Linked DNA regions of Homo sapiens: all the other regions are linked to region 1. Evidence: promoter capture Hi-C in 16 types of primary human blood cells and fetal thymus (Javierre and others, 2016). All regions are on one chromosome and are shown on one strand. The core of a region is centred on a gene start or on the middle of the fragment in contact, and the rest is flanking DNA. Distances in the headings are between cores, read along the strand shown.

Region 1 (5,083 bases), core at 1,133-3,632:
TTGTTTGTTTGTTTTGCTGAGACAATGTTGCTCTGCCACCCAGGCTGGAGTGCAGTGGCACGATTTCGGCTCACTGCAACCTCTGCCTCCTGGGTTCAAGCCATCCTCCTGCCTCAGCCTCCGCAGTAGCTGGGATTACAGGCGCGCACCACCACGCCCAACTAATTTTTGTATTTTTAGTAGAGATGGGGTTTCCTCATGTTGGCCAGGCTGGTCTGGAACTCCTGACCTCGTGATCTGCCCACCTTGGCCTCCCAAAGTGCTGGGATTACAGGTGTGAGCTACTGGGCCTGGCCGGCAATTTAGTTTTTAAAAATCTCTGTCCAGCAGAGACTTCCTTATTTTATTGTTATTATTATTTTTTGTACTGATAGACACAACAGATGCATTTTGAATAAGTCTGAACATCACTACTTTCTATGAGTAACTGACCACTGGGAGACCAGATGAGATATTTCTTATGCCTCCCATTCCAGGAGGCCATTATTTAGGGGACACATGGTGTGTTATGGATATCTAACATATCATGTTGGATCACTCCCACTTCTCAATGGTTCTCTGCTGTACATCAAGAAGTTAAGATTAAAAAACAGAAGCATGAAGAAGAATGTTGTGGACTGATTTTAGTTGCACTGATGTGAGTTTTCCTATCCAGCTACACTTTTTGTCCGGTGTCTACTGCGAACAATGGCACATTTCATCACACAGCTGGATAATGTTAAGAATTATAATCTGTAACCCCAGATTAGATGAAAATAAATGCCACTCGTAATACTAATTATGTTCCTGACCTTATTGTATTTACTTACTAACCCCAAATAAACTCATCTATTTACTTAAATGGGAATATTAACATCACATAAATCATATTTAACAATGAACACATGAAACAATTTATCACCTAGTTTAATATTCTGCTTGACTCATCTAAATCTTGTTTCTCTTACAGAATTTCCATCTGTGTCCACTCTATTGGAATAATGCTGTTTCTGTATACTTCTACAATGCCTGCTTTACTATTGAACAGTAGGTATGAAATGGAGTCCTCAATGGGATTATCTCATTCATGGATACATCTTTTGATAGTAGAAAAACAAAAGTATACATAGGTTGGGGGAAAGACAGAAAAAGCAGTTGCTGAAAAATAGCACCTGATGGTGAGTAATGGACAGCAATCAGGTTTTTGTTATGTTTTCTTGTTGTTTTTGTGACAGGGTCTCCGCCCTCTGTCACCCAGGCTGGAGTGCAGTGGTGTGACCTCGGCTCACAGCAACCTCTGCCTCCCGGGCTCAAGTGATCCTCCCAACAGACTCCTGAGTAGCTGGGACTACACGCATGTGCCACTTTGCCCAGCTAATCTGTGTATTTTTTGTAGAGATGGAGCTTCGCCGTGATGGCCAGGCTGATCTTGAACTCCCGGGCTCAAGTGGCCCGCCGGCCTCGGCCTCCCAAAGTGCTAGGATTACAGGCATGAGCCACCGTGACCAGCCTAGCAATCAGGTTTTTATCTGTTTCGGGTGTGGGAGAGGCTAAGCTAAGCCAGAATTCAAAAGAAAGGAATATATTCATAATTAGTTACACTTAGGGTGAAAAATAAAATTTCAGAGAGAGCAGAATAGGAAAAAAAAATCATAATTTTAATAATTCACACTTATTGCACTATTGTTATTTCAATTTTACAGAGAAAAACAGGCATAGAGTGATGAAATAGCAAGTACATATATAAACAACAAATGGCAGAGCTGGAACGCCAATCCTAGCAATCTGAACCAGCATTTAAAAACGAGGAATTAAAGCACATAGGGTGAGAAAAATTATAGGGAAGGGACAAGAGCTCAAGGGGACACCTGGAAAAGAAATACTATAATTTAAAAAATTACCAACGGGCTAATTATACTTGTGTTTTACTGGCAGAGCGCTTTGTCTGTTAGCTCTTTTAATCCCGCTAATAATTCTGTGAGGTTGGTACTATAAGTTCCATTTTTCAGACAAGGACGCTTAATAGATGATAACGGACACATTCCCTGCTTGCTCTGATCTGCATCTCAACAGCTGGCTCTGGAGCAAGCAAAGGGAGACTAAGGGAAACAGAGCGGAGCAGGGCAAAGAAAGCCGACTGAAAGTGAGAAATGCAGGAAATGTTTCCCATCTAGGCAGAAGCTGGTTCCAGCATTCAAATCTCTCCAGCCGGCCCGCCACCACGTCACAAAGCCCGCCTCTCAGTGACAAAGCCCCGCCCCGTTCCCTTGGCTGTTCTCTGAGCTCCCAATACTTCCCTCCTTCTCTTTGGCCCCTGCTACCCCGCCTAGCATCATTTCCTGTGCGCTGGATGCTGATTGGTCCGACAGTCGGAAGTGAGGGCGGGCGGTGGGGGCCGTTGCCGCAGTGACAGTGCTAGGGGAGTCCGAAGATGGCGGCGTCGCGTCGCTCTCAGCATCATCACCACCATCATCAACAACAGCTCCAGCCCGCCCCAGGGGCTTCAGCGCCGCCGCCGCCACCTCCTCCCCCACTCAGCCCTGGCCTGGCCCCGGGGACCACCCCAGCCTCTCCCACGGCCAGCGGCCTGGCCCCCTTCGCCTCCCCGCGGCACGGCCTAGCGCTGCCGGAGGGGGATGGCAGTCGGGATCCGCCCGACAGGCCCCGATCCCCGGACCCGGTTGACGGTACCAGCTGTTGCAGTACCACCAGCACAATCTGTACCGTCGCCGCCGCTCCCGTGGTCCCAGCGGTTTCTACTTCATCTGCCGCTGGGGTCGCTCCCAACCCAGCCGGCAGTGGCAGTAACAATTCACCGTCGTCCTCTTCTTCCCCGACTTCTTCCTCATCTTCCTCTCCATCCTCCCCTGGATCGAGCTTGGCGGAGAGCCCCGAGGCGGCCGGAGTTAGCAGCACAGCACCACTGGGGCCTGGGGCAGCAGGACCTGGGACAGGGGTCCCAGCAGTGAGCGGGGCCCTACGGGAACTGCTGGAGGCCTGTCGCAATGGGGACGTGTCCCGGGTAAAGAGGCTGGTGGACGCGGCAAACGTAAATGCAAAGGACATGGCCGGCCGGAAGTCTTCTCCCCTGCACTTCGCTGCAGGTCAGAGACTTTTGAATTGTTTATTAAGGGTTATGGGTTTGGGTGCAGGGTCCGGTTAGGACAAGAAAACAGGTTATTGTGATGGGACAAAGTGGGGGCGTGGTTATGGTTCTTCATCACCTCACCAGAAGACTGGAGGTTCCTTTCTTTTGGTGGTGCCTGGGTGATGGGGGCGTGGTTGGGGGGGATAAGTGAATCCAAGGAATTCTTCAGTGGTTGCACAGTACTCATTACAAAACTCACTGTAGTTGGTAGTCTCTGCATATGGATATATTTACACTTTAGTTTTTGGTGTGCAGGAATACAGTTAGATTTGGACAGCTTTAGAGTAGTTTTGTCGTTTGTGTGCTAGTTTATTTTGTTTTTACAAGGGTATGTCCTTTGAGGACAGTCCAGACCAAAAGAGGTTTAATACAACCCAACACATGTTTGAGGATCTATTGTAGCCTTAATAACCCAATGAAAGACATAAATGAAGTGTTTGAAAGTTTCCCTTCTTCTAAAGAAGTTTGCAGTCTAGACGGGGAGACCAAAATATGCCAATGTGAAACAACTGGAGAAGAATATTTGGATGCATTATATGATGATGGAAGAAATATAGGCTTTGATGTTGTGGCCACTATTATTTGTTGTCTAGCAGACCATTTACCTCGTGTCAGTTGCCTCAGTTTTCTCATGGGCAAAAATCATAAAATGATGTTGTGCGAGCATTTGGTGAGAAGTATCTGGCACAAAGTTCTCCCTCAAAAAGTGTGAATTTCTTAAGCTCTGGACCCCACACTTGTCTTTTTTTTTTTTTTTGCAAGTAGTTGATGATTTTCTCTCAAAGACACCTAATAATATGTTTATAAAATAAAGAGAACTGTAAAATAAAAACAAAGGACCATAATCTCACTGCCTGGATACCTATTGTTGATATTTTAAAAATGTAGGTAATAATGTTTTATACATTAGAAACATTATATTGGAAATACATATATTGTACGTTATACAATTCAAATAGGACAGAAAAATACAAAATGAAAGGCATCACACAGAAACATCAGAGATAACACACCAGAGATAACTTCTGTTAAGTTTCTCCTATATTTCTAATATATATATATATCACTTCTTCAGTTTGTTCTGTTAACAGTAAAACATGTGTTGACCCACTGTAGTATTTATTTTTACCACACTTGGGAGATATGATTAACCATTTTACAGATGACAAAAGTGAAGCATATATCGATCGCTTAAATAAGTCCAAATTCAGTCAGGAAATAGTGGAAATTGAGTTTGAATTCAGGCAGTTTGATTTTAGAGCTTGTGAAATCAAACTTAAACTGTCAGAACCCTGGATTAAGGTCACTTTTCATTTTTGTGAGTAATTGAAGTGTAGAGTTCCCAATTTTTGGGAGAAGTAGTAATGCGGAGGGGCTTATATGCAAGAGAGTAGCTTTCACATGTTTTTTATTGTAGCCCATACTTAGAAATACATTTTACATTGTCACATACGCAACTGAATCAAAAGTTTCTGGAAACAATACTTTCCCTTAATACATGTGTTGTCCTCTGATATTTTATATTTTATTCTGTTTCATTTTTAGCAAATGCTGCTTGTGATCCATTAATGGGTCGTGACCAGTGGTATGAGAAACACTTAAAGGAAATCATTGTTAGGTCACTGGATTCATTATTGATATACAGACACTACTTATTAGGAATGCAGTGAATTGAATCAGAAACAGACTTTTGCCTATTTGTTTGCTCAAGGGTCTTGCTTGTTTTAGATGAAATAGCATTTCTTTTTCCTTAGGCTAAATGAAAGGCCTAAGTCTGATTTTATTAATCAACAGAGGTGTCTACTTTTGCATACTTTATTCCAAGTTTGCCTATTTTAACAAATTGCGTCACAAATCATGTCATTTCTCACCATCCCACTTTATGCGTAATCACCAATAAATGATAGTTATATTTATGTGTATTAATGTATTTAGGATAAGTCACACAAAATAGTG
Region 2 (4,992 bases), core at 2,234-4,733, 450 kb before region 1:
ATTTTGTTAAAACTCCATAGGAATCCTTTATAAAGTTGTCTAATCTAAAATATATGACTATATTTAAGATGCATTTGTTTGCTTGGTTTAGATGGTAGTTTTTTTAAAGGGCCTCATCCATCAAAACACAATAAATGGGAATTGACTGTAGAATCCTGAGAATTTGTAATATTTGGAGGCATAATGACATAGCAGAAGAATATGAGTTTGCAGGTAAAAGAGACTTGGATTGAATATTCGGTCTGATGTTTCACAGTGGAAAAGCTATTGAAACCTCATTTTCTCGTTGGTAGAATGAAGATAGTAATGCCTATTTAAAGGGTGGTTGTAAGGATTAAAGAAGATGACAGACCCGTTACCCGGTGACACATTAGATTCTTGGTGAGGGTCAGGTCCTAGTTCATTTCTAGTCCCCCCCGCAACCTTTTTTTTTTTTTTTTTTTAAAGGGATCACACCTTTTTATCCTGGCTTAAAATCTAAATCCCTTCCTGCTAGGAGTTGGTGATCCTTCCCAAACTGTATGCAAAATTTAGTATGTTTGTACATGTTCATTTTGCGAGAAAATATCCCTGTGTATTAGTTCCTTTTCAAACTGTTATAAAGAACTACCTGAGACTGGGTAGTTTATGAAGAAAAGAGGTTTAATTGACTCACGGTTCCGCATGGCTGGGGTAGCCTCAGGAAACTTACATTTTTGGCAAAAGGAGAAGGGGAAGTGAGGCAGACGGCAAGATGCAGGGGAAGTGCCACACTTTTAAACCATCAGATCTCGTGAGAACTCACTTACTATCAGGAGAACAGCCTAGGGGAAACCACCCCCTTGATCCAATCACCTCCCACCAGGCCCCTCCCCATGGGGATTACAATTCGAGATGAGATTTGGGTGGGGACACAGAGCAAAATCATATCACCCTGGCTTCCATCAGATTTCAAAGAAATCCATGATTCAAAGGCAATTTAGAACCACTGGGAGATTGTTTTTCATTCATTCAACAGTATTTACTGAATATCCACTATGGGTCAAGCGTTTTGCTCAGATAAACCATGTCCCTGACTTTCAGGAAGGTACAGCCTAGACTGGTGAATAAAAGTATGACCTGTTTTGTGAATCTGTGTGTTATCACGCTATTATTAGGTTGGTGCAAAAGTAATTGCGGCTTTTGCCATTGAAAGTAATTACTTTTGCACCAACTTCATGCTTACTTGTATGGAGATGACACGTCAGAGAGAAAGGAGAGTACATGAAACAAAAAGCAGAAGAATCCAGACAGTTGAGTGGACATGAAAAAGAGGCCCTGTAAGCAAGGAACAGGCATCAAGAAAATAAACCTTCCTGACTTTGACTGACAGCCAGCTGCTATATTAAGGTGTAGGATTGTGTAGGTTCTGCCCCACGGAAGTGCCGGCCAAGGGTTGAGTGGAGAGGGTTGGGGTGGGGAGGTGACGAGATGCAGCTTGAGCTCCCTTCACCAAGCTGGGGGCCCTGAAGACTCTGCCTACCTGGATAGAGTAACTTTTTCTAATATGCTTCAAGGTGCTATAAGAGGCTGCCAGCCCAGTGTATTGCTGCTACACAGAGAGTCAGATTTTCCTTTAGGAGCTGAGCTGTTAAACTTGAAAGTAGATCAACTCTAGTTCTGAAAAAGAAAAAAAAAAAAGTGGGTTCTTTGGCTCTTTGCTCAGTTGATCCCTTAGAGGACATGATCAAGATAACTAACAGTTGGGTCACTATGTCAACAGTGTTTGGAGAACAAAGGAGGTGTCATTCAGCCTCACACCTTTCCAGGCAGCTAGTAAGGTGAGTTGGAAAAATCCTAATGCAGGAGAGGAATTTGTTTTTTTTGCATCTCGGTCCTCTCATTTTATAGATGAAGAAACTGGGACCCAGGATGATTATTTCCCAGCCTTTTCTTAAGCATGCAGCTGGAGAGTGGATGGTAAAGGCAGGAGGCCTTGGAGGATTTGTTGTACTCACTATGAGCACTTGACAATGGGAAGGGGCCCCTCTGCAGTGGCACTGGCTCTCCTGGCCCTGTTCACAGTGTCTAGCTCCACCCACCTGGCATATCTTGGGGCCAGAGCCTGTGCATATTTACTCTTTCGAGTCTTGCACTTTGCTCTTTTATTTTTACTGGCCCTGCACTTGTGTTTGCTCTTGGTGCTCTCTTCATACATATTGCAGGAGGCCCCCTGTTTAACTTGAGCTTGGGACTAAATATAACCACTGCTATCACCAGAGGCATCCATACATGTCAGCCCTTTTTCAGTGTTTGTCTGCTCCACCCCAGGTCGCAGGCACGGGGCAGGCCCCCGCGCTCCTTTCATAGGAATTCGGTTTTAAATGGAAACTATCACCAAAAGCAGGGGTGACTGGGGCCGGGAAGAAATCAATTCTTATCACAAGCTGCACTCATGCTTTGTCCCTGGTGTGCAAAAGCCCAGTCCCCAAATCTCCAAACCTCTCTTCTCCGTTTAACAGCATGGTAGATGCCCCTCTCGCTGACTCCATTTCCATCCTGTGAGCCCTTTGAAAGGAACTGCAAAGTGTCTGTAGCTTTGACATGTGCTTTTGTCTTCTGGGGCCTTCCAAAGCCTTTAGGTCATGCCACAGACCTGCAAACCATGGTTCTTGGACATTGTTCCCACACTGCACATTGCACCAGGAGAAGCTTCCACCTCACCTCCTCCAGGAAGCTCTCTCCCACACTCCTATCAACACTGCCCTTGCCTGTCTATAGTAATCGTGGTGATTAAAAGTTGCCTGCGTGGTTCATAAATTATTGTGTGGTTTTTCATCTTGTCAAAATGAGAGCAAAAGCCCTTCATTACTTGAATTAGTGTCTTCCACTCACCAATCCCTGATCCCTTTTCTCAGTGCTGAGAAAACAGGTGCTTGCCAATATCTCACTCTCTTGAGAACACTGAAGAAGATTCAAGCTCGCGTTTCCTACTTCTCTGAATACGGTAGGATCTGCTCTGACCTTCACTGCAGGCTGGGGAATGCCAGGCCAGAAGAGGGGCTTGGAGGGGCAGCTGGAGCTCCTAGAGAGAAAAGAGGGCACCCGCCCAGCCAGCTGAATCAACCCGGGATAATGAAACAGCAGAACTCGAAACCACATTGTTCTTGCAGCTTCCACTGGGTCTGAAATCAGATCCTTTACAATTTCTTCAAGGTCTACAAGTTCAGAAACTCACTCCTTTGAAAGAATACTGCCTGCAGTGACATCATTTTCTGAATCAATCCCTTTTTCTCTCCATCCCTTCTAGCAATTGTGAGCACCTGCTGCGTACAAAGCTCGGGGTTAACAAGAAGTCTAAGATGTACTCCTTGTACTTCTAGAGCGTGCTATCTAGGACAAAAGACTTATTTAAAGTTATGTTCAAAGGAAGAAGAAAGGACCCTTGGATAAGTCGACTGGGCTGCTCTTGGGGGCTGTCAGCAGCAGGGGTTATTTCGGGCACAAATTCAGGGAGAGTGGGTGATGATAGAGTAAGGAGATGTACAGGGGAAAGAGGAAGGGTTTATTTATGTGTTCATTTGTGAACTTGTTTCAACCCCGGGGAAAGAAGCAAGTGGTGAAGGTGGAGATTGCAAATACCAGAAAAGGCAGAAAGGAAGAGTACCCGAGACTCCATTGGAGAAAGAGTCAATGCAGTGTGGCAGGAACATGGGGCCACACCTCGGACGCTTCTCCATGAGGACAGGTCGTGATTGTTCCATCAGCCTGTAGATGCACAGCTAGCAGTTTTCTATATGGCTGCCCAGCTGCTCAGGCTGTTCTCCAAAAGGTCTTCTTAGGTCACGTGTTGGCTGTAGGTGAGGACTGGGAATACGTCTTGTTCTTTGCCCTGGATCCTGTGTGTACAAGGTCACCCTCATGCCATCGGGACTTTGAGTGAGGACACAGTGTCCGACGCCATTCATGGAAAGAACTATTCCGGTCAGGGTACATCTGAAACTGGCTACAGTTTGCTGGTAGGGGTGGCGTGGGGTAGAGGCATCAGAATTTGAGAGTCTCTCTGGCTTCAACATCTCTACTGCAGACAATTAACCTCAAGAGGCCCCAGGAGGGGATCTTCCTGGTGCCATTAAGAACACAGAGCATGAGGGGCCTCCCGTCTTCAAGGAGGTGGAGCTGGCTGTGAGCTCAAGGTGGGGCCTTCTGATTTTCAGTGATTTGTTGTTAGAACCGGAATTTCAGGGTTTTTGCAGCCTGGGGTCTATCCAGGCAGGTGTTAGAAAACTGGAATGACTAGATCATTAAGTGGTGTTGAGTGTGGCCATGCCAGAGTATGAAAGCTTTAGCAGGAACACAGAGCAGGAGCTTATCTCCGCTGCCTCAGTCGGACACATGATATTGCATTAGACATAAGCTCAAAGCTCACATCTCCCTTGGAAATACACAGTAACATCTAAAAACAATGAATTGAGATTAATAAAATATTCTTGGCTTGTGTTTTAAATCAAATTGGAAGTCCAGTTCATTTTGATCACTAATAGATGCTTTTTGCTGTTCCACAATCCATGCAAAATAAGATAATATGTTGTGTGTATAGCCCAGGACCTGGTGGACACTCAGAAATGCTGGTTATTTTCCTTAGTCTCGTCCCACCTGTTCCCCATAGAAGAAAGTCTGCACCCCATACATTTGAAACCCTGCACAATTTTTTCCCTTTCTTGTGTTCAATCATATGTAAGCACTAATTATGCGCCAGGCCAGGGAACACAATAGACAAAGTCCTTGCCCTCATAGAAGTTATTTATTTACTTATTTCTTAGAGACAGGGTATTGCTCTGTTGCCCAGGCTGGAGTGCAGCAGTACAATCATTGTTTACTCCAGCCTCCAACTCCTGGGCTCAGGCAATCCTCCCACCTCTGCCTCCCAAGTAACTGGGGTTACAGGCATTCACCAACATGTCCAACTCCTCATGGACATTATAATAGGAGAGAAAGTCAAGAAACAAATAAAGCACAGTACTGGCATGAACC
Region 3 (5,144 bases), core at 2,097-4,596, 420 kb before region 1:
AAAAAGCTTTGGCATAATTAACCACTGAGGTAATGTAAATTAAAACCACGATGAGATGTTACTACATGCCGTTCAGAATTGCTAAAATAAAAAGTAGTCACAACAGTGGTCAGGTGTGGTGCATACCTATAAGACTGTGTGAGCCCAGGAGTTCAAGTTCAGCCTGGGCAACATAGTGAGACTCTGCCTCTAAATAAATAAATAAAAACAGTGACAACACAAAAAGCTGACGAGGATGCAGAGAAACCGGATACGTTACTGGTGGCATTGTAAAATAGTATAGCCACTCCAGAAAATAGTTTGGCAGTTTCTTATAAAACTAAACATGAGACTGCCATAAACCCAGAAATTTCACTCTTGAGCATCCATCCCAGAGAAATGAAAAATGTGTATTTGCACAAAAAGCTGTACATGAATGTCCATAATAGCTTTATTCATAATAAACCCAAACTAGACACAACTCAAACGCTCATCAGTATATTATTAATCTGTACTGTGGAATAGTCCTCAGCAATGAAAAGGAACAAACTGTTGATACATGGACCAACTTGGATGAATCTCCAGGGAAATAAACTGTGGGGAAAGCCAATCCTCAAAGTTTACATGTAGGATTCCACTTATATAACATTCTTGAACTGACAAAATGAAAGAAATGGAGAACAGATTCGTGGTTGCCAGGGTCAAGGACCATGGTGGGAGTGGGGTGGGGGAGGAGAAAAGCCAGGGAGAGGAGAGGAGCTGTGGTTACAAAGGACATGAAAGATCCTTGTGGTTCTATATCCTGACTGGGGCCGGGAGCAGTGGCTCATGCCTGTAATCCTAGCACTTTGGGAGGCTGGGGCAGGAGGGTCACTTGAGTCCAGGAGTTTGAGACCAGCCTGGGTAATGTGGCAAAATCCCATTTACATTAAAATATATATATATATATACAAAACATTAGCAGGCATGGTGGCACACACTTGTGGTCCCAGCTACTTGGTAGGCTGAGGTGCGAGGATTGCCTGGGCCTGGGAGGTTGAGGCTGCAGTGAGCCATGATCGCATCACTACACTCCAGCCTGGGTGACACTGAGACCCTCTCTCTCAAAAACAAAGTAAAAAGTATATCCTGACTGGATTAACGTCAATATCCTGGTTGTGATACTGTATTCTAGTTTTGCCTGATGTTACCACTGGGGAAAACTGAGTCAATGTTACATGGAACCTGTCTGTATTATTTCTTAAAACTGCATGTGAATCTGCCATTATTTCAAAACAACAGTTTAAATTGTAAAAAGGAAACATGAGGACTCTCTGGTCTTAGATGCAAGCAAATGGAGTAAAAAATGTATAATTTGGGCAAAGACTAAAGTAACTATTGGAGGATTCTAAATAGCTTGGTGACAATGACATGCTATCTCTTTCTACATGCCCATAGAGTACTTATTCCCAGTCATACCCTTGCCCATAGAGGCACTCAATAATTTTGTCTTATGTGTTATATTAGTGTGGAATAGACGTTGCCCTGTCAAGCAGTTTAATGTATGAATGTAAATATAAATCACATATATATAATAGGCAGCTCAAGTGTGGTTCTGTGTGAACAAGCCAATTTTTTTTTTTGTGAAAGGACATGATACGTATCCTTGAGAACAGAAGGAAAACATAACCAGAGTCCACATTTATTTTGGGGTCCACAGCTGTGTTTCCTTCCCATGCAGGTTTTGCTTGTTCACTTGCTTTTGCCTTTTTCTATAGGATATCCTTCAACCACATTCATTAGCCTAGGAGGCGGGAGAGTGGAATTCCTGTGTGGGAAGGAAAGGGTTTACACCCGTATTTCTGGGGCCCTAGGGCTCTCAGGAGATGCTTCAGGGAGGGGGGAAATGGGTGCGATTTCTATCTTGGGCGGCCTATTTTCTTTTTTTTCTTTTTCTTTCTTTTTTTTGAGACGGAGTCTTGCTCTGTGGCCCCAAGGCTGGAGTGCAGCGGTGCAATCTCGGCTCACTGCAAGCTCCGCCTCCCGGGTTCACGCCATTCTCCTGCCTCAGCCTCCTCAGTAGCTGGGATTACAGGAGCCCGCCACACGCCTGGCTAATTTTTTTGCATTTTTTAGTAGAGACGGGGTTTCACCATGTTAGCCAGGATGGTCTCGATCTCCTGACCTCGTAATCCGCCCGCCTCAGCCTCCCAAATTGCTGGGATGACAGGCATGAGCCACCGCGCCCGGCCCTGTTTTCTACCTACTTGTCCATGGCTTCACATTGGATTTGATTTAAGAACACATTCCATGTCTTCATAAAATGTTAGAAAACCACCAGCGGCTCATGTCTGAGTTCAGCTGCACAGGACTGAGGTTGCAGCTGGAGACCTGGGCCTCTGCATTCCCTGTCTGGTGGAGGGAGTGCAGAGGCTGAGATGAGGCGTGAGTGGTGTCCTGGAGGGCTGGAATGAGTGCCCCCTGTCATTGTCTGTCTGGCTTCTGCCACTGACAGCAGAATGTCACTTATTCAGTGTTGCTTGCCCAGGGAGGACAGAGTGTGTCCTGCCTTACAGAAGGCCTGGGGCAAAGCCATGACATTTCAAAGTGGGAAAATCAACCAGGATGAGAGGGACTTTTTTCTGGAGAAAATACTGTTTAAAAAATGTTTGTTTTCAAAGTCTGTGTGTGTAATATAGTGTGTGACCAATAGAAGCGACGAGAGCCCAAGGTGGTGAGGTGATTGATCAATTGATGAGAAAAGCCCCTGGAAAATTTGTGTGAACAAACACTTAGTTGCATGAGCAAACGTGCAAAGCAGTGTTCAAAAAGATCTTATGAAAATATTTGGGAGATGGGAGGTGGCAGTTTCAGTGAGCCAAGATTGTGCCACTGCACTCCAGCCTGGGTGACAGAGTGAGACTCTATGTGAAAACAAAAACAAAAAACAAAAATTAGGAGAATTCTTTCAGTAATAGGTTCAATAAATAATTGACTAATGATGAAGAATTAATATAATAATTTATAATAAAATGGTGTAATGATAATAAAATCAGTGAAATTTCAACTGGCTAATTCCACACTCAGATGAGACCAAGATGTTGACCAGAAGGCAATCCACACAGTGACTCTGGAAGGGAGCCCGTCTGAAGCAGTGACCGGTTTTTCTTCCTGATCAGCTCTAGCAGTGCAGGTGGTGATGTGTGATATTCGGATGGATGCTGGAAAACTAACCCTCCTCTGGTGGTGAAGAGTTCCACTTTGATATGTCTGGGGATTCCTGAAGCCTTTCCAGGACCCTTCAGCACTAATGTTAGGGTCCTCGGCATTACAGACCCACCTTCAGCATGGGAGTAACGGTAAATACCAGCGGGAGGAGGCAACAGAGGTGAAATGGAAGAGCATGTGTGCCTGCCCCTCGTGGTGCCACCAGGAAAGCAGGGGGTCTTCAGGGCCAGGGCCCAGAGAGAGCACTTCAGAGATGAATTTCTACCTCCTTGGTCTCCTGCGGTGCTTAATTAAGGCCTCTTGAACTTGCTGGGCTAGAGAAAGATGAGCTGAGACCCTGGAGTTAGTTAAATTCCTAGGAGCGCTTTGATGTTACTTTCTGGGGACTTGGGTTTTGGAATACTGCAAGATCCGACCTCAATGTCTCTGTCCACAATGAGCAGCTTCCTCGGGAGCCTGGCCAGCCTCGATTTGTTGGGCACGGGGGAGAGGTGGAGGAAAAGCACTGGTAGGAAATAAGCCCAAACCATGAATCACCCCTTTCCTCCTAAAGAAGCTACTGTTAAGAGTGAATTGGCTGAAATTTCCAGAGGGCTTTTGGCCACCAGCACTACAATTAGGAAAGAAAACCAAGCGATAAAAACAAATCTAAACCACAGACTAAATCACCACTCCATGATAACCCATCCAAAAAGAGCACAATCCAGCCAGAACTGATTCCCGGCACAAGACCAGCCTGGTCTTTCCGAGCTCTGGAGAGGTCTAAGAAGATCCCAGAGGAGAGGTGAGCTCGGACAGGGATCGTGCTGTCAGGTTTGCCCAAGGTGTTCCTAGTGTACACCGGGTGCTCCTGGCTAACTCACAGGAGCCTCATTCATTCTCGAAAGCGTCCCAGTTTAGATCATAAATTATATGATCATCTTAAAAAGAAAAGAAAGCAAGCCACTGAAAATAACCTGCGGCCTCAAGACTTCAGCAAGTCGGCTCTCAATTCTCTTCCTATGTGACTCTTGCTTGGGGCTGGCGAACCATGGCCTGAGGGACAAAGTCTGCCCTGGTCCTGCTTTAGTATGGCCCACGAGCTAAGAACGGTTTTTACATTTTTAAAGGGCATTTAAATAAAAACAAATATGTGACAGAGACCACAAGTGGCCCGCAAAACCTAAAACATTCACTACCTAGTTCTTTACAGGAAAAGGTTGCCGACCCCCAACCCGGCCACTTGATCTTGTAGCTTTGGGTAGAGGGCTGAGATCTTGGATCATTATTGATGCCTTTGGCCCCAGAGAATTTTGACGATTCTGTATCCTCATCCTACCTTTGCCAAATCCAAGGCCCAGCCCCGGGTCCCCCAGTGCTAGAGAGGCAAAGTAGTGTTTGTGGAATGAACAACATCAATGCAAGCATGTCACTTACCAGAGAATCCCATGCAGAAAGCAAAAGGCATCTGTTGAGTTTCCCTCTCTCTCTTCTCCTCCAAGGGGAGGTGACAAGAAGGAATGAGGTTTACTTAAAGCCTTTCCGTGCCACACAGGGTTTCTATTCTGGTGGAAGGGAATGCTGCGGCCAAGAATTCGGCCTCTCTCCTGGAATGCCCCTGCAGCCACGGTTCCTTGGTGGTTTCCTTCCACCAATTTAGCCTGAGGTTTAATCAGGCCCTCGTAGACCCACATCATTTCATTCTAACTTTCATACTTCTACACGGTCTGTGGTCCTAGTACGTGCTGAGGAAGCCCTTGGGAGGAATGCAGCTTTTCCTGTAGAAAAATGATTATGTTCACTCCTTTCCTGGAAACTGTATCTCTCCAGCATGGGGGACAACTTTTGAGAATCATCATCTTGGTCTCTCAGTTCTATGAGATTGATTCTGGTTCACAGGGACAGTTCTTGGAACAAAGACTTATGTCGTCCTCCTGGCTCAGTCACTGATGGGCTCTGGGACTTGAAGAAACTCACTC
Region 4 (4,936 bases), core at 220-2,719, 490 kb before region 1:
TCTGGGAGTGGCTGCCAGGTGAGTTGAACAGTCTGATTTTCAGTGGGGTCTCGCTCAGATGGGACGTGGCTTAGGAGGAATCCCGGGCTGTGGGCATTCCTTGGCCCAGTGGCCAGATTTCTGGCACTTGTAGCAAGCTCCTGGGGGAGGAGGTTCTGGAGGAACCCCTGGCAGCTGCGGTTCAGGTGTTTGGAGTTCTTGTGTGCTGGAGATGTGGCTGGGGTTTGTCTCACAGTGGAGGCAAGGAATTGCAACTCAGAAATATGTTGCTACTTGGCTGCCTCTACTTTATTATTGTACACCTTGAAGGCCAGGTTAATTAAGTCCTGTTGTGGGGTTTGAGGGACGGAATTTAATTTTTGGAGCTTTATTTAATGTCGGCAGCAGATTGGGTAATAAAATAAATGTATATTGAGAATAAGACGGCCTTTTGACCTTTTAGGGTCTAGGGCTGTAAAGCGTCTCAGAGTTGCTGCTAAAGGGGCCATGAACTGGGCTGGGTTTTTTATATTTGATGAAAAAGAGCCTAAACACTAACTGATTTGGGAGAGGTCAGATAAAGAAAAAGCATTAACCTTGACTATGCCTTTAGCTCCAGCCACCTTTTTAAGAGGAAATTGCTGGGCAGGTGGGGGAGGGCTAGTCATGGAATGAAACTGTAAGCCAGACCGGGTGTGAGGAGGGGAGGTGATAAAAGGATTATAGGGTGGAGGAGCGGAGGCTGAGGAAGAATCGGGACCTAGCTCGGCCTGGCAAGGAGGGGAGAGGTCAGATGGGTCTGTAGAAAAGGAAGATTAGAAAGACTCAGCGATGCTTGGGGTTGGGACTGAGGGGACAGGCGGGAGGGAAAGAAGGAAGATTTGGGATGAGTTGCATGGGGAACAGAGACTAGGGAGGGTCCAATGTGTAAAAGAATGCCTGGACATCGGGCATCTCAGACCATTTGCCCATTTTACAACAAGAATTATTTAGATCTTGTAGGATGGAAAAATTGAAAGTGCCGTTTTCTGGCTATTTGGAACCACTGTAGAGTTTATACTGGGGTCAAGTGGCATTGCAGAAGAAAATAAGGCATTTAGGTTTTAGGTCAGGTGTAAGTTGAAGAGGTTTTAAGTTCTTGAGAACACAGGCTAAGGGAGAAGAAGGGGGAATGGAGGGTGGAAGGTTGCCCATAGTGAAGGAGGCAAGCCCAGAGAAAAGAGAGAGTAGAGACACGGAGGGAAGGGGTTCAGGGGTTCTTACCCTCCAGAAAAGCAGGAAAGGGGTTGGGGTGTGTAAATAAGGGGTTGGGGCACAGAGATAAGAGGTTGGAGTGTGGAAATAAGGGGTCAGGGTGCAGAGATAAGAGGTCGGGGCATGGAAATAAGGGATTGGGGCACAGAGATAAGAGATCGGGGCATGGAAATAAGGGATCGGGGGGTTCTTGCCCCCTAGAGAAGCGATACTTGCCGCTAAGGGTGAAGGAGAAGGGGGGTTGGGGGGGTTTCTTGCCCCCCAGAAAAGCAGAGAAGGGGTGGAGACATGGAGAGAAGGAGTTGGGGGGTTCTTGCACCCCAGAAAAGCGGTACTTGCCGCTAAGGGTGAGGGACAAAGGCAGGCGTCCTTGAGTGGTCAGACACCTCTGAAACATGGGTGAATTATCAGAGAGGCGTCCCTACAATGATTAAACACCAAGGGAAGGCTGCCTTCCCTAGTCCGTGACTGGCACCGGAGTTTTGGGTCCACGGATAAAACGTGTCTCCTTTGTCTCTACCAGAAAATGAAAGGAATTGAAATTAAGAGAAGTGAGAGATTGAAGGGTGGTGCAAAGATTGAAAGGAGAAAGTGGTTGAGGGATAGTGAGAGAGGTTGGAGAAGAGAGTAAGAAGAGGCTGCTTACCCAATTTAAAATTGGTGAGTTGTTCCTTGGGCTGGTGGGTCTGAGGACCTGAGGTCCTAGGTGGATCTTTTTCACGGACCAAAGAGCAGGAGGACAGGGGATTGATCTCCCAAGGGAGGTCCCTTGATCCGAGTCATGGCACCAAATTTCATGCGCATCCATGTGAAGAGACCACCAAACAGGCTTTGTGTGAGCAACAGGGCTGTTTATTTCACCTGGGTGCAAGCGGGCTGAGTCCGAGAAGAGAGTCAGCGAAGGGAGACAGGGGTGGGGCTGTTTTATAGGATTTGGGTAAGTAAAGGAAAAAGCGGGGTTGTTCTCTGGCAGGAAGGAGTGGGGGTCACAAGGTGCTCAGTAGGGGAGCTTTTGAGCCAGGATGAGCCAGGAGAAGGAATTTCACAAGATAATGTCATCAGTTAAGGCAGGAACAGGCCATTTTCACTTCTTTTGTGGTGGAATGTCATTAGTTAAGGCAGGAACCGGCCATCTGGATGTGTACGTGCAGGCCACAGGGGATATGATGGCTTAGCTTGGGCTCAGAGGCCTGACACCAACTATCTATAGTACAGCTAAGTGCATGTACAAAAAAAGTTACTGGAATGCTCAGAATAAGATTGTTTAGTTGTTTTTGCTTCTTTCTACGAGGTTTCTTTTGTTCTTTGAGGTGATGATGAACTTGGTCACACCACAAGTAAAGTCAGAAGTAAGGCAGAGGATGCTCAGTAGGCTGGTTTGATCACCTGAGATCATTAAAAATGGCTGACTGCCAGCTGGGCGCAGTGGCTCACACCTGTAATCCCAGCACTTTGGGAGGCTGAGGCAGGCAGATCACGAGGTCAGGAGATCGAGACCATCTTGGCTAACGTGGTGAAACGCCGTCTCTACTAAAAATACAAAAAATTAGCCAGGCGTAGTGGGGGGCGCCTGTAGTCCCAGCTACTCGGGAGGCTGAGGCAGGAAAATGGCATGAACCCGGGAGGCGGAGCTTGCAGTGAGCTGAGATCGCAGCACTGCACTCCAGCCTGGGCAACAGAGCGAGACTCCATCTCAAAAAAAAAAAAAAAAAAAAGGCTGACTCCTGACAATACGTGCAAAAATATAAAAGGAAACTAAAAAATACTAACAAATCTCCTTTTAAAATTACTTAAAAAAATAAAAATAAAAAGCAGGGCCTTGGAAGTTTTGATTCCTTTTTCCTCTCCTGTTGCAAACTCATGTTGTGGTTTTGGGTGGGTGGTGGAGAGTGTGTCACCAGCAGGTGGCGCTGTCGGCAGTGGCTGGGCCTCTCTCTCCAAGGTGACCATGTCTAGTTTATGAGAAGGGAAGTGGAGGGTGAATAGGTCACGGCCGCCTTTTTTTTCTTTGACTTTTCTGCTGCCTGGCTATCCTCCTCATCTTCTGCTTTGCGATATCAACACCACTATCTTCTCTATCTGCAGTGCCCTGTTTGCCACCAGGGGCTCTAGCTTCTTCATTCATCTCCACCCTCTTCCTTGCCTCCACCTTCTTCCTCCTCCTCTTCCTCCCCACCTTCTTCCTCTTCTTTGTCCTCCTTATCGTCAGCCTCATCTCCCCATTTTCTTCATTGGGGTTCCCACTAGCAGGGGCATCTCTTCCCCTTTCTCCACCTGCACAACTTGTTTCTTCTCCTTTAAGTGGTTGGTGGTCATCTCAGAGTTGGTGTCCACAGATGGATGTCTGTGACACAGCGGGCTCCCCGGTGATCCCATGTGTTGGATAAGAAGAAAGCAAGAGTTTGAGGACTCTGCCAATAAAATGGGGACAATGCAAAGATGGCTTTTCAGAGCGGCCAGTGGGCACCTGATGACTTTTGAACTCACCAACACTGGCAGTGATTTGATTTTGTGTTCACCTGGCCTTTGGGTTGTTGGGCACGGTGAAGGAGGGTGACAAATGACAGGCAGAAAGGAATCAGATGCATGATTTTGTGAAGATGTAGGACATTTTGTTATTCAAGGAATGTTCAGTTATGAGTGCCGGTCATTGTTTTTAAAGGAAGGGACATACTTAACATTTTAAGTATTCTATTTTCTTACCTGAAATTTAAAAGAAAGGAAGAAATAAGAGGTCTGGCAGCCCCCACTGCAGAGACTAAAATGTGACAGGCGGGTGAGTTGAGAGGGAAACAGCTGGCTGGTTTGTCTCTGTGGTGGCTTCTATTTTGGGAAAGTTGGTGATCGCCTTGCCTCACTGTTCTGATGTTCTCAGTGGCCTCAGCTGAGCTGCAGTGGAGTGAGGGGTGGAGGAAGCACGAACGGTGACAGTCGTTCCAGCTACCTTGCAATGTGGCAGATGGGAATAAACGCCCATGAACTGGGAGAAGATTTGACGGCTGCCTATTGCTGTGTAAACCTGGCCAAGGCATTTTACACTTCTAAGCCTCAGGAAAAAAGAAATCATTCTCATTGCCCTACCTATTTCTAAAAATCGCATGAGTCTCCAAAATTGCAAGTGATATGACATAAAATCGTTTTGGGAACACTAAAGACCTATACAAATATAAGCCCCCATTATTGATTTAGCTGCAGGGTACGTCATTCATACACATGAAGTATGTTATACTCAAAGACTGTATACACGTTCCTGTATCAGCCTGAAATCTGTATTAAGTTTTCTAGATATAAAGAGTCCATTATTTTATGACTGGAATTTTCCTGCTCTATGCACTTGTTTATTATAAAGGTCATGATGGGATTTCATTTTTAACCTGTGTGCATGTGTGTGTGTGTGTGTGTGTGTGTGTGTGTGTGTGTGCAATATCAATAGTAGAAGGGAAAAAAGAAAGGTGACCTAGCCTGGGCAACATAGAGAAACCCCATCTCTACAAAAGATGCAAAAATTAGCTGGGCATGGTGGCATACACCTATTGTCCTAGCTACTTAGGAGACTTAGGTGAGAGGATCGCTTGCACCCAGGACCTCCAGGCTGCAGTGAGCCAAGATCGCACCACTGCACTCCAGGCTGAGCAACAGAGTGAGAACCTTTCTAAAAAAAAAAAAAAAAAGGTGACAAGACCTTCCATAACATGGATAAGGC

Evidence for each region. Contacts are between HindIII fragments. The CHiCAGO score rates a contact against its expected background, and 5 or more counts as called.
Region 2: a contact is called between a fragment that was not itself captured here and the fragment with the promoter of TNKS in region 1, in 1 of 17 cell types (neutrophils). The highest score is 5.2, in neutrophils.
Region 3: a fragment that was not itself captured here is called in contact with the fragment with the promoter of TNKS in region 1 in 1 of 17 cell types (neutrophils); the score reaches 6.3 in neutrophils.
Region 4: a contact is called between a fragment that was not itself captured here and the fragment with the promoter of TNKS in region 1, in 1 of 17 cell types (neutrophils). The highest score is 5.6, in neutrophils.

What each region holds. Positions count from the first base shown.
Region 1 is chr8:9,553,530-9,558,612 of GRCh38, forward strand. It overlaps TNKS (tankyrase), which reads left to right and starts at 2,383. Exons shown (of 27, transcript NM_003747.3): 1 at 2,383-3,083. The coding sequence starts at 2,411. RefSeq lists enhancers at 2,066-2,727, 2,728-3,387 and a silencer at 2,486-2,645. The HindIII fragment of the contact is 11,121 bases long and covers 1-5,083 here.
Region 2 is chr8:9,100,655-9,105,646 of GRCh38, forward strand. No RefSeq gene overlaps it. Among named protein-coding and RNA genes, the nearest start is that of PPP1R3B-AS1, 38 kb to the right of the region's middle. The HindIII fragment of the contact is 1,631 bases long and covers 2,669-4,299 here.
Region 3 is chr8:9,129,467-9,134,610 of GRCh38, forward strand. LOC112268402 (a long non-coding RNA gene) reads right to left here. Exons shown (of 3, transcript XR_007060803.1): 1 at 4,603-5,144. Among named protein-coding and RNA genes, the nearest start is that of PPP1R3B-AS1, 9.4 kb to the right of the region's middle. RefSeq lists an enhancer at 2,183-2,683 and a silencer at 4,313-4,607. The HindIII fragment of the contact is 6,685 bases long and covers 5-5,144 here.
Region 4 is chr8:9,062,767-9,067,702 of GRCh38, forward strand. It overlaps a transcript of ERI1 not described here. Among named protein-coding and RNA genes, the nearest start is that of SNORD3I, 6.6 kb to the left of the region's middle. RefSeq lists a silencer at 3,050-3,256. The HindIII fragment of the contact is 7,622 bases long and covers 1-4,936 here.